Regions from separate parts of the Homo sapiens genome. Here regions 1 and 2 are each linked to region 3. Evidence: promoter capture Hi-C in 16 types of primary human blood cells and fetal thymus (Javierre and others, 2016). All regions are on one chromosome and are shown on one strand. The core of a region is centred on a gene start or on the middle of the fragment in contact, and the rest is flanking DNA. Distances in the headings are between cores, read along the strand shown. Region 1 overlaps ABCC4 (ATP binding cassette subfamily C member 4 (PEL blood group)). Region 2 overlaps CLDN10-AS1 (CLDN10 antisense RNA 1). Region 3 holds the start of ABCC4 (ATP binding cassette subfamily C member 4 (PEL blood group)).

Region 1 (4,319 bases), core at 1,600-4,099, 150 kb before region 3:
AAGCAAAAATGTTTTAAACTTCATGGAAAACAAAATGTCACAACCTCAGCGTTGTAAATATTCTGATTTTTTTTCCACTGTCTTCATGGCAATATAAATAATCATGTTTATAATAAAGGGGGAAGGAATAAAATAATGGAATAAGAAAACTCCAATTATAAGTGAAAATCAGTTCTCATATAAAACTCAAATTAAACTCCAGTTATAAATGGAAAACTCTCAAATTAAAACTCCAATTATAAATGAAAACCAGAGTTCTCATATGAGAACTTCAAAGTCAAATCTTTGAGGGGAAGCAGTTGGCCTTACAGTAAAACAGAACAGCGTTTCAAGCTAGCAAATCCCAACAACTTCCACTTAGTGTCCAAAAACTATGCTTTATACATATTAGGCTCTCAGTAATATACTTATCAATATTTATTCATGTTGAAATCGGCCACTGCAAGTGGCTAATGGAATATCATTAGGTTATTCCAGAAACAGTGTTCTATTTTCCCTTGAAATGGTTATCCAACAGCTAAGAACTAAGTCATGAAGATACTTTGATTCTTTTCTGACAATAAGGTCACAGAGAACTATAATGTTGATCTAACAGTGGGGGACAGTTTTAAATGACAATACTTGAATTACTATTATCAGTCACACATCCCATAGGCTAATGCCAAATTACTAAGCACACATTAACAGCAGATATTGGGATATGCTACAAAGCCCTGAGTTCCAAGTTAGCTAGTTCCAAGTTAGCCGAAGATAAAGATAAAGACAACACATATCAAATCAGTTAATGGGGGGGCGTTAAAACCATAGCCACGGACATTAGACTGAAGTGGAGAACTTACATATATCGAGAGAGACAGAGAGAGAGAGATACAGGCATATACAAATACATGCAGGTATCACATTATATACACTATAGGAAAACAATTTAACACAGTTAAGTAAAATGTCATCTTATAATTTCCTGAAATATTACATGATTATCACTTTGAACAAAGCACATTCTTCCCTAGTTTTTTATCTTTTTAACATTTTATTGGACAAACACAGTGCTTTCTCTGTTACTAAGTTGTCAGTATCTCCATGTATGATTTATTATGGAGAAAAACCATGAATCAGAACATTCTAGTAGATTAAAAATTATGCCAAAATGATGCAATATTTACCAGCTGTAGACAAGTGCTACAGTAATCGCTTACATACAGATTACTGACAAAATAACAATAGCAATCAAATATATGTAACTACGTAACTATTTAAACTCCTAACAAAGGCTTTTATGATACTATTAGCAGTAAAGGAGCAACTCCCATAAAATATGACTTCGTATCACCCCTGATAAGAGTTTAAGTACATATAACCATTGTTATGTGAAAAAAACATTATTTTTAATTTGTGATAACCCGACAGGATTTAATTACCACACCTACTTCAAACTCTTAGCTGTTTCATTCAAAGCTGAAAAAACAATATTTATGTGGCTATTGAGAATCATTATGATTGATGCAATCTTTTGTGTTATTCCCTTTATAGTCACTTGCATTTGTTATTATTAACAAGAAAAAATGAAAGGGGAAATGTGTGTTTTTGTTTTGCAACAAAGCTTTTCTGGTGATGACTAACTTCTTCCTTTGAACACAAAAAGCCTCTTAAACTAACTAATGTACATATAAATGTGTTCTTTACAATACGCATCAGGCAAGGGGGTGGGAGGGAAAGCCCGCAGGACTTAAGCCAGAATTAAAAGCAATATAGGCAAGATTGAGTACATGAAAGCTGTCAGGACGGTTGTTATTCTCAATTTCTTACAGCTCATCTGCTCTCAAGGAAGAAAAATCATAGTTTCTTTTAACCATATCCACAACAGATCTCACTTGAAAGGAAACATAGCGAGTGATTTGGCATCAATGGGCATATTACCAATTTTCCAGCATCACTACTGAATATTTATACTGGTGACGAATGATGACACTGAGGAAATATTTTAGCACGAAGCTTTGCCTTGTAAATTGTCTGAATGGTGCTGTGTCAAAACAACACCTACCATAAATCAGAGGTTTTAGGACCAGTATTTCTTGTTTAAACATGCTACCTGCTCAGCAGAATCACTTGTGTGAACAGGCATAGATTAATGTGTGCTGGGCAGAGCCATCTTACCCCCTAGCTTATAGAGCTATAATTTAACAAGCCTATTATTGTAGAGGTAATTTTGACAGTGCTGAAATATTATACTTGTTAAAAATGCACATTTAGCACCAACTCCAGTGGTCATTTGAACTGAATAAACAGATAAATAGGTATCCCTACAATTATGTTTCTTCTTTATTGATGACTCTTTTTTTCTGGCAAGGAAGTGGGATATGGACATCAGATTTTATAGAGTATCGCAAGACAGTCTTTCTGATCATATAAAAAGCTCATCATGGAGGTTGCTTTCAGTTCTCCACAAATTATTTAGCAACTTGTAGTGGATTCCAGAGTCCCTTTCCAGGTTTCAGAAACAGAACAATAGTTCAAACCACTACCACCCTCCTCCCCTCAATTCCTGTAGGATGCACATCCTAACTTCCCATTCAGTCAAGCTGGGAAGGAATCATTCTTTTTTTTTTTTTGGAGACAGGTTGGAGTGCAGTGATGCAATCACAGCTCACTGCAGTCTTGACCTCCCAGACTCAAGTAATCCTCCTGACTCAGCCTCCCGAGCTGCTGGGACTACAACCACGCCTGGCTAAAAGCTGAGAATCTTAATCACTGGGGCAACCCTCGATTTTTGATTAGGGAACATAGGAGAATATGTCTATCTTAAAATCTAGTACTAGCATTCGCATTCCATACCTCAGTGACCACAAGCATCTTCCACTGGATTAAAAAAAAGAAACATGGGAAGAAGTCAATATGTTTCTTTTTTCTTTTATCTAGTGTTTTAGCTCTCATTTACCTTAATCTATAAAGAAAAAAGAATGATATGAATCTGGTTTTTTTGTTACACTGTTGAAGGCATCGATGAACATAAATATACATACACACACATACTCCCCACGCACACACTGGAGAAAAACCAGTTGTGTAAAACACACTGGCTGTAACCCAATATTAACTTTTACTTCCCTGAGAGAGTAAACAAACACTTCTACCAACACCAGCTCTTGGGTTCTTAAAGCCAAATTAACAAATTGAAAGCAAGTAAACATTTATCTGGCACCCATTAGAGTCAGTGTACTTAGCTAAATGTTATGTCACCATAATTAGGCATGAGAAAACAGGACAACAAACCGCTCATCTTTTCTCCAAAACAAAGAGTGAAATTGTAGAGACCTGATAAGAATAAAATGTCTCTGCTAACTCTGTTGGCGTGGAAGAAAACTAAAGAAACTAACTGTGTAACTATCTTTCTCTGCAAACTCATGCTTACAAAGAAAACAGAAACATCATACAAGCAAATCATAATGTATGCTTCAGGAATTAAAATGCATCCAACCACTCAAGATGTCAGCGTCTGCCTATTCCAGTTACTAGTCAAGAAGGTGTAATTAGGAAATCCAAAAAAACCCTGTTTGAAATGCTAGGTATTCCAGGACAACATCAGAAAAATATCTTCCACAAAGACTTTCATGTTTCAAACATAATACGCCACAATATTACTTTTTAAATTTCATATTAACACATATCAAGATACAAAGACCCAAGCTATAAAAATAGAATTTCCAAGAAAGCTTTAAATTAAAAACCAGGTTTTGCAATGAGGTGCTCTTACATTATATCACTGAAATACTGCAGATCATGCTGCCCTCTTGTGCTGGATATCAAAAGCAAAATTAATTCTGCCCATGCCAGGAAAACAGGATTTACATTTAAAATAAAAATCATCTCTTAATTTCTGAAGACTTACTCTTGACCTAGGATTTGTGTTACCCATTTATTATGATTGGAACAGAACGGAAACAGGGCTAAGACACACACAAAAACTGACTAGGAAGAGGTAGATGCAGCGAACAGTACCAGAAAATATCTGCAAATGCCCTATTCAACTCAGGTCATAATCAAAATATGAAGGAGGTGTCCGAGGGCAGCTGAAAATGTAAGGCTTCTTAACAGACACACGTGATCCCATCACCAACCTACATCAAAAGAGGAAAGAATAAAAACTAGCAATGGGTGAGAGGAGGATAAAAAGACGAGAAAGGAAAACCGGCTCTTGGCAGGGCGCGGTAGCTCACGCCTGTAATCCCAGCACTTTAGGAGGCCAAGATGGGTGGATCACCTGAGGTCAAGAGTTCGAGATCAGCTTGACCAACATCATGAAACCCCATCTCTACTAAAAA
Region 2 (4,113 bases), core at 349-2,848, 180 kb after region 3:
TGCTCCACCATCCATTGGTCACTCGATATGAGCTTCCCCAGGCATGAGTGTGCTATGGTCTGAATATTTGTGTCCCTCCAAAACTCGTATGTTAAAATGCTAACCCCCAAGGTGATGGTATTGGGATGTGGGGCCTTTGGGAGGTGATTAGGTCACAAGGATGGAGCCCTCGGGATGGGATTAGTGCCCTTATAGAAGACACCCCAGAGAGGTCCCTCCCTTATCCCTTCCACCACATGAGGATACAGTAAGAAGACATTCTCTATCAGTTAGGAAGCCAACCCTCACCAGGCATCAAATTTGCTGGTGCCTTGACTTTGGCCTTCCCAGCCTCTAGAATTGTGAGAAATACATTTCTGTTGTTTTTGAACTACTTAGTCTCTGGTAGGATAGCAGCCCAAAAGGACAAAGATAGGGCATGTCCTTGGGTGAGGCAGCTCTCTGCAGCTCAGTCACTTTCTGAGAGGGCTAAGAGCTACAGGCTGACTGCAGCAGCACTTCTAGCAGCTGGGGCCTGATGTCCTTCACTGTCCTTTCTGGGCAGCATATCACAGTATCCACTGCACACCACTCGGCTATCATTCTGTTCAGATACTTCTTGACTGGTCTTTCTACTTCTAATTTGTTCCATGTAGAATCTATCCTAAACACTACTTCCCTAATCTTTCTTAAAGGAAAATATTGGTAAAATATTTCATAGTCTGTCATTATGAATAATTTTATATGTCATTCCCCTGAAAAGAGGTGTTACAAGGTCAAGTTTTTTCAGTTATGCAGGAAATGTAAGTGTGTAAAGAAGCAGGATGAGGCCAGGTGTGGTGGCTCACGCCTGTAATCCCAGCACATTGGGAGGCCAAGGTGGGCAGATCACTTGAGGTCAGGAGTTCAAGACCAGCCTGGCCAACATGGCGAAACCCCGTCTCTACTAAAAATACAAAAAAAAAAAAAAAAAACCCACAAAAATTAGCCAGGTGTGGTGGCAAGCACCTGTAGTTCCAGCTACTCGGGAGGCTGAGGCACAAGAATCGCTTGGACCCAGGAGGTGGAGGTTGGAATGAGCCAAGATTGTGCCACTGCACTCCAGCCTGGGTAACAAAGTGAGACCCTGTCTCAAAAAAAAAAAAAAAAAAAAAAAAAAAAAAGAAGCAGAGTGCAATACAACATGGTATGATGGGGTCTTATTTAGTTTGATTTAGTTTGCCTCCACTTCACCCCACTGGTGAGGGAGGGATTCCGCCCTAGAGTTGAGAGGATGGTTGAATGTACAACATCCAAGCCTAGACAGATGAGATGGGCAGCAGGTAATTAGTCACATATGCTCATGGCCCAGGGAAGGACGACACTGCCCCACAGAGAGCCACGTGGGGGTTGCAGCTGGGAACAGAGTGAACCACCAGGAAGCTGTGGGAGGCAGGCTTTGTAGTAACAAGAGGGCGAGGTGCCCCTGGTTCCTGTAAGAGGATGTGTTTGGTTTGCTTGGATAATTCTACAGGCTGACGGGGACCTGAAGCCTAGCACTGCGCCTGGTCCCTTTGATAAGGAGGGTTGCTTGGCTAGAGGACTTTATCCACCAGGAGCAGAGTGGGAGGAGAACTTGCAGTTAATCCATTTGAGCCTCTGTACCCTGATTTTACCAGCCTCCATGGTCAAGGCAGCACTTAGTTTTGAATCTTAATTTCAGGCCTTACACCACAGGTCTATGAGTCATTGGAGCTGAATTTCCTATCCAAAGGTATTCAAAATTATTTTCAAATCTGATCTGGCCAAACAGAATTCTACCATTCATCACTGCTGGTTTTCAAGCCCGGGCCCACTCCAGATTCCCTAGAATGGCACATCAGGGCATTCCTAATCAGGCCTAATCCATATCTCCTTTCTCATCATCCCTGCTAAATTTCAGCCTGAGTTTACACACATTCACTGGACAACTTGTGTTTTTGGCATACTCAGCTGTATGTTTTTCCTCACTCTATTTCCTCCAGATAAGGACTAGAAATTCTAGCCGTGCTTTGAGGCCAACTCAAATGTAACCTCCTCTGGGGTGACTTTCCTGGGCATTGCAGGATAAGTGCCTGGATGGCCTTGATAACCCAGCTCTTCCCCCATTTTTCACTTGTAGTTCTCAGAATAATGCTAGAATGTGCTGGAAACAACATTCTGAGATAAGGAAAAGCTGTCCAGAATATGCCAGATTCTGTTTCTGTTCCTCTTAGGACAAGATGTCCTCCAATGCTGTGGTCCAGTGATCCCAGTTTCCCCCCAGGGTATAAAACCCAGAGTGGAGTGCTTTCAGAGTGCCTCAGCTACAGTGCATTGTGGGGCATGTGCAGACAAGACTCCATCCATTCTGAGTAGCTTCCTGAGCCTTGCAGAATCAGCTCGCAATGGATGCTAGGCTTCTGTTGTGCCTTGCTGCCTATCTGTGATGAATAAAGTTGCTTTGCCTAACTTGTTCTGTGAGTGTTCTGTCTCCCTCAACTCCTGCAAGTGGTAGAAATTGCAGCCCAAGATGCAATAGGCGCATTTTGGGAGGCCGATGTGGGTGGATCACTTGAGGTCAGGAGTTTGAGACCAGCCTGGCCAACATGGCAAAACTCCGTCTCTACTAAAAATACAAAAATTAGCCAGGCATGGTGGCGTGCGCCTGTAGTCCCAGCTACTCTGGAGGCTGAGGCAGGATAATCACTTGAACCTGGGAGGTGGAGGTTACAGTGAGCCAAGATCGCACCACTGCACTCCAGCCTGGGCAACACAGTGAGACCCCATCTCAAAAAAAAAAAAAAAAAAAAAGATGCAATTGGCAGAAGTATCTGGACTCCTCTTCCTGGTGGTTGGTTGGCATAGTGATGATCTTTGCTATCCTCCATGTAGTAGGATCTCCCCTGGAATTGGTAACCAGAGTACAGTGAACCTGCCTCACAGGCATCTCAAACAGAATGAAAGGTGCCTTGCTTTTTATTCCTAAAGATTTTTCTTTTTCCATCCTGGCCATATGATTCAGTAGCCACATTTTAGCCTCTCAGTTGTGCATGTGCCTCCACCTGGCCACGTTGTGAGCTCTTTGGGGAGGCAGAACTACACTCTCCCTTTACCGCCTCAGTGTTCAACATGGTGCCTGATACTTGGGTGCTCAATCAATGAGTTGCACATGGAAAATTTAAAGAAATAAGGTTTTTGGTGGAGAAAAGAGGTGAAAAGTCATGGCCAAAATGAAGTGGAGATTTTGCTGTTGTCGCTGTGCTATCGTCTTTGTGTTGTGTTTCGCACGGATTTGAACTGTCCGTGTCCAGCCTGTTGCTCTTTAGCATGATTCTAACCTACACCTATGGGTGTTCTCTGCATCTATCTCCTGATTAAGCACATGCTATTCTCACAGGCAATTTGTTCTGGCAGCCTATGATGTCATTTCTAGGAGAACACTCTTGTCCAGTCTCTGCTATCCTAGCATCCTCTTGCTCAGAACTGAAGTTTCCCAAGAAGACTATCTCCTGTTTGCAGGACTTACTTTTCTATTTTTCCCTTAGAGGGTTACCTATGAAGAGAACTTTACACTGATATAAAGTCATCACAAAATCATTTTTGAATATTCAGTACAAATAATGCTGAAGACTGGCTAAAGAGTATGTTATCACTGCTCTAAGCTTTGCATTTGGGTTCATCTGTGGAAGCATAGTAATTCTTGAAATTTCCTCTGCACTTCTCTTAGTTTATCTCTTTCTGTCATGTAGAAGTTATTCATGTTCACATTTTATCTTCCCTCCTAGACCAGGAGTTTCATTAGGAAAAAAAGAAATTTTTCATTATAGAGAATTTGAAACATATACAAAAATAACAGAGAAGAGTATAAACTCTCACATACTTCATGAACTCATGGACAATGTTGTCACATCTGTACTCCCATTCCCTATGGTTCTAAGTTTTTCTAATTTTTTAATTTTTGAGATGAGATCTCACTCTGTTGCCCAGGGTGGAGTGCAGTGGCGTGATCATGGTTCACTGCAGCCTTGACCTCCCAGATTCAAATGACCCTCCCACCTCAGCTTCCCGAGTATCTAGGACTACAGGTGCACACCACCATGCCTGGCTAATTTTAAAAAATTTTTTTGTAGAGAC
Region 3 (4,497 bases), core at 1,265-3,764:
GCCACCTACATTTTGAAAATGCAGGGGGAGAAAAATATAAGGAGGCAGGAGTCACATCTGTAATCCCAGACTTTGGGTGGCCGAAGCGGGAGGAACACTTGAGCCCAGGAGTTCAAGACCAGCCTGAGCAACAACATAGAGAGCCCTATCTCTACAAAAAAAATTTTTTTTTATTATCCGGGCATGGTGACACACACCTGGAGCCCCAGCTACTCGGGAGGCTGAGGCAGGAGGATTGCTTCGGCCCAGGAGTTGGAGGCTGCAGCAAGCTATGAATGTGTCACTGCCCTCCAGCCTGGGTCACAGCTTGCACAAAGCAAGATCCTGTCTCAAAAAAAAAAAAAAAAAGTTCCTTGCCCTGCCTGAAGTTGAGGAGACCATTTGTCTACCTCAAGTTATTATTTGCAGAAACCACACCCATATTCCTTCCTCCTCCACGTGCCCCTCTCCTTAAGAGAAAGGCCGCCAAACAACCAAGAGAAGTTCCTACACCCACTGAGTGTACCACAATCGAAACAAGAGTAAGCGACTCATCCTCTTGGAATCCCCTAGGTCAAGCTTGTCCAACCTGAGGCCCATGGGCTGCCAAATTCGTAAGCTTTCTTAAAACATCAGATTTTTTTTTGCGATTTTTTTTTAGCTCATCAGCTATCATTAGTGTTAGTGTATGATTAGTGTTAGTGTATTTTATGTATGGCCCAAGACAATTCTTCCAGTGTGGCCCAGGGAACCCAAAAAATTGGAGACCCCCACCCTAGGTTGTCCCATAATAAAAGGCAATATCAACATGTGGGAAAGATGAGGCGGCAGAGGTCAAGAAACAGAAGATCTAATAATCATCCAAGTGAGATTGAAGCCCTTCAAAGGTTCAGGCTTATGTAGTTAGCAGACGGAATTCCCCCACACACACCCGCCACTCCCCCAAGACGGAGTCTCACTCTGTCACCCAGGCTGGAGTACAGTGGGGCGATCTCAGCTCACTGCAACCTCCGCCTACTGGGTTCAAGCAATTCCCCTGCCTCAGCCTCCTGAGTAGCTGGGATTACAGGCGTGCTCCACCACACCCGGCTAATTTTTGTATTTTTAGTAGAGACGGGGTTTCACCATGTCAGCCAGGCTGGTCTCGAACTCCTGACCTCGTGATCCACCCACCTCTGCCTCCCAAAGTGCAGGGATACAGGCGTGAGCCACCGCGCCAGGCCAAGATGGAAATTTTAGTTACTACTGTCACCCGAGTCTTTCTCCGTTTGTTTCCTTGCACAAAATGGGTAGGGCTGTGGGCCCTCCCAGCTCAGGAGCCCTGGGGTGGTTTTAAGAAGGTAGAACTCCTGGTAGGAACCACCTGCATCAAGACCATGGATCACCTCTCTGAAGGTTAGCGATTCCAGGGACCCCACCTCCGAGCTGTCCTCCTACGTGGAAGTGAAAGTATTGGAAACAGGGGAAAGAAGCTGGTCAAAGACAGACTCCAGTCGTGGCGGTGCATGTCCCAGTTAAAAGCAAATCCTGGAAAATCTTGTTCAAGAACAGGGTCCCCATTCATAAATGAAAAATAATAATAGTGTTATTTTACCCACATGAAACTTGCCATAACTAGGTACCACGACCCACATGGACACACAGTGAGATTCCCACAAAGAGGCAAAAGGAGAGCCCTGGTCACTGAGACAAAAGATACAGAGACACCGGGACACAGAGAGGTACAACGGGACGTGGAGTTGGATCGAGCTGTCTCGTAAGGAATATCGGAAGGGGTGGGGACACTACTGGGAGATGGCATAGGTCCAGGACACTAATTAGGCTTTGGCTGAGATCAGATAAAGGAAACTGTTCGTAAGCTGCTTACTTAAAAAGAAAGGAAAAGGTGCGTTTGAGTTCAGGAGACTGCGAGTCCCAGAGCAGGAGGCGGGAGCCAGCGAAGGGTGGGCGTGTAAGGGGTGCAGTCGCTTCTCCCGCTGGGCAAGAGACTCCCCCTTTCGGCAGCCTGGGTTCCCCGCCTCCCCACCTCCTGCTCCTCCTCCCCCGAGCCCTAAGGGCCCGCAGGGCCTCCAGTAGCAAAGCCACTGGCCCCGCGTCCCCGCGTCCCCCTGCGCCGCGCCCCGGGGCGCAGGCAGGGACCACGCGGCCGGCGTGGGGGCGGCGCCACCCGCAGCAGAAAGCCCCGGCGTGGACCGCGTGGCGTAGGAAAGCGCTCCCCTCGCCCCCAGCCGCAGAGGGCTTGGGCAGCATCGGGCGCGGCCCCGGGAGAGTGCGTCCGCGGCGCCAGCGGCTGCAGGGTGACCTGTTTCGGGCGGGGACACTCACCAGAAGAACACGCGTGAGCAGAGGTTCGCGTCCTGCAGCGGGTTGGGCTTCACCTCCTGGTACACGGGCAGCATCTTGCCGGGCGGGGCGGGCGCGGGCCGGGGTCGCGCTGATCAGGCGGCGGTGGCCGCGGGCTCCGCTCCTGGACCTCAAGCAGGGATGCTGGGGCTCCGGCCGCCACGCCTGTCCGCTCGGCTGGAGCCTGTGAAGCAGCCGCTTCCGGGAGCCGGGCGCCGGCGGCACGCCCCGTCCCCGCCTCTCAGGCCCGCCGCCTCGGGGGCGCCCGCTACGCGCCGCCGCCTGGAGCCCGGGAGCTGCGCACCGCGTGCGAGCGCGGCCGGGACCGACGGGTGACGCGGCGGGAGGAGACGCGGCGGGAGGAGGCGAAGCTGGCGACGCCAAAGGGAGCCCAGAGCTACGCCCAGGGGTGAGGCGAGGGCCGCCTGCGCCGCTGGATGGAGAGGGTAGCAGAGCGCGCGGCAAGGAGGCCGGGTCCGGAGGTGCCCACGTGCACGAACCCGAGTGAAACTTTCCGAAATTCACTATCCGAGTCTAGGCGCCGACACAGAAGGTGGAGCAGGGAGGCGTCGGCTGTGCCCGCCCCTGCGCCGCAGAAACGCCCCCTCGGCTACGGGTTTGGGAAGACTGGGAGACAGCTGCCTCGTGCTCTAGCAGCCCGCCCCCTGGGCGCCTTTCCCTTCTCAGGACCAAACGACGGTGCCATGGGAGGCTCTTCAACCTGTGAGCCAAACATTTGACCTTGGACGACAGCAAAGTTTAGCCACAGATTATCCTTGTAGAGCTGCAAGACCTCAAGAAAGCCGGGTAACTCGAGAGTATGACCCAGATGAATTCGGGAGATGGATGAATGCTGTCGTCGATGGGGGCGGGCTTTAGGCATCTCACATGTTGCATGCTACGGTGGACCTCTGAGCTTTTTGCTGCCCCCTTAGATTGGGAAAGGAATATAAGAGGAAAGAGAGACTGCCTGATGATTTCTGTCGTCAAGCCCTAAAGCCTAACAGATAACAGTGGCAAACGACACGTGGGTTCCAGAATACCAGTGATGTTCATGTGCATTTCTGAGTGCGTAGCCTCACTAGTGTGTGTGTGTGTGTGTGTGTGTGGCAGTCTCACACACAGTGTCACGATTATGGCTCATTGCACCCTCGACCTCCCAGGGCTCAAGCAATCCTCCCAACTCAGTTTAAGTAGCTAGGACTACAGGCACCCGCCACCACACCCGGCTCATATTTTGTAATTTTTGTAGAGATGCAAAAATCAAAATCAAAGGCTCCAAGTTCAAATACTGATAATTTTTGAAGCCAAATGATTGTCATGGAGGTTTATTTTCTTCATATTTCATGCATGTTTGAGAATTTGGTTTTCTTTGTAATAAGATCATTTTATTGTTCCTTGATAATTTCTCACTTTGTTGCCCAGGCTGGTCTCAAACTCCTAGGCTCAAGTGATCCTCCCACCGTGGCCTCCCAAAGTGCTAGGATTACAGGCATGTACCACCACGCCCGACCAATTATCTCACTTTTAATTCTATCAGTGCCCCATTCAAGGTTATCCTTACTTTATAGATGAGGAAGGTGAAGCTGAAAGGCAGAACTTGTCCAGTCTTAGAGCCAAGAAAGGATAAAACATGATTTGCAATAAGCCTATGTCTAAGCATGGCCTGTCTCCCTGGTGGATGGCCAGTGTGCATGAGAAGTGCCCAGAATATGCTGGTTGAATGGCTGTAGGAATGAATGAACAAAATCTTGTTCCAAGCTTGTGTACTCCCACCTCTAAGTCTTCAGTCATTTCTGTGGCTACCTTAACAAGGTCAGCAGCTGCTCTTCATATCCACCCTGAATGAAAAAAAATGAAAGGCTCCAAGTTCATGGTGCTTGGAACAAGATCATTTTATTGTTCCTTGATAATTTCCCATGTATATTTGCTAAAATAGTATAGTTAATAGCTTTTAAAGAAAGCCTTACACAAACACATATTTAAAAGTCAAGCACAGGCTAGCCAGCATAGTGAGGCTCTGTCTCTACCAAAAGTTTTAAAAATTAGCCCAGGTGTGGTGGCGTACCCTTGTAGTCCCAGCTACTCGAGAGGCTGAGACAGGAGGATGGCTTTAGCCCAGGAGTTCCAGGCTACAAGGAGTTAAGAAGGTGCCCACTGGGCTGGGCACAATGG

The links. The method cuts DNA at HindIII sites, captures the fragments that hold promoters and counts their contacts. A CHiCAGO score of 5 or more calls a contact.
Region 1: a fragment that was not itself captured here is called in contact with the fragment with the promoter of ABCC4 in region 3 in 1 of 17 cell types (megakaryocytes); the score reaches 5.5 in megakaryocytes.
Region 2: a fragment that was not itself captured here is called in contact with the fragment with the promoter of ABCC4 in region 3 in 1 of 17 cell types (megakaryocytes); the score reaches 10.3 in megakaryocytes.

Annotation. Positions count from the first base shown.
Region 1 is chr13:95,152,617-95,156,935 of GRCh38, forward strand. The region is part of intron 19 of ABCC4 (ATP binding cassette subfamily C member 4 (PEL blood group)); the gene reads right to left. Among named protein-coding and RNA genes, the nearest start is that of SNORD13G, 56 kb to the right of the region's middle. The HindIII fragment of the contact is 1,718 bases long and covers 1,991-3,708 here.
Region 2 is chr13:95,483,754-95,487,866 of GRCh38, forward strand. The region is part of intron 3 of CLDN10-AS1 (CLDN10 antisense RNA 1); the gene reads right to left. It also overlaps a transcript of CLDN10 not described here. Among named protein-coding and RNA genes, the nearest start is that of CLDN10-AS1, 48 kb to the right of the region's middle. The HindIII fragment of the contact is 4,082 bases long and covers 1-3,639 here.
Region 3 is chr13:95,298,937-95,303,433 of GRCh38, forward strand. ABCC4 (ATP binding cassette subfamily C member 4 (PEL blood group)) reads right to left here and starts at 2,515. Exons shown (of 31, transcript NM_005845.5): 1 at 2,305-2,515. The coding sequence starts at 2,378. LOC102724149 (a long non-coding RNA gene) reads left to right here and starts at 2,015. Exons shown (of 3, transcript XR_429273.4): 1 at 2,015-2,327; 2 at 3,010-3,390. RefSeq lists enhancers at 798-857, 2,460-3,234 and silencers at 2,051-2,690, 2,721-2,780, 2,961-3,020. The HindIII fragment of the contact is 3,485 bases long and covers 597-4,081 here.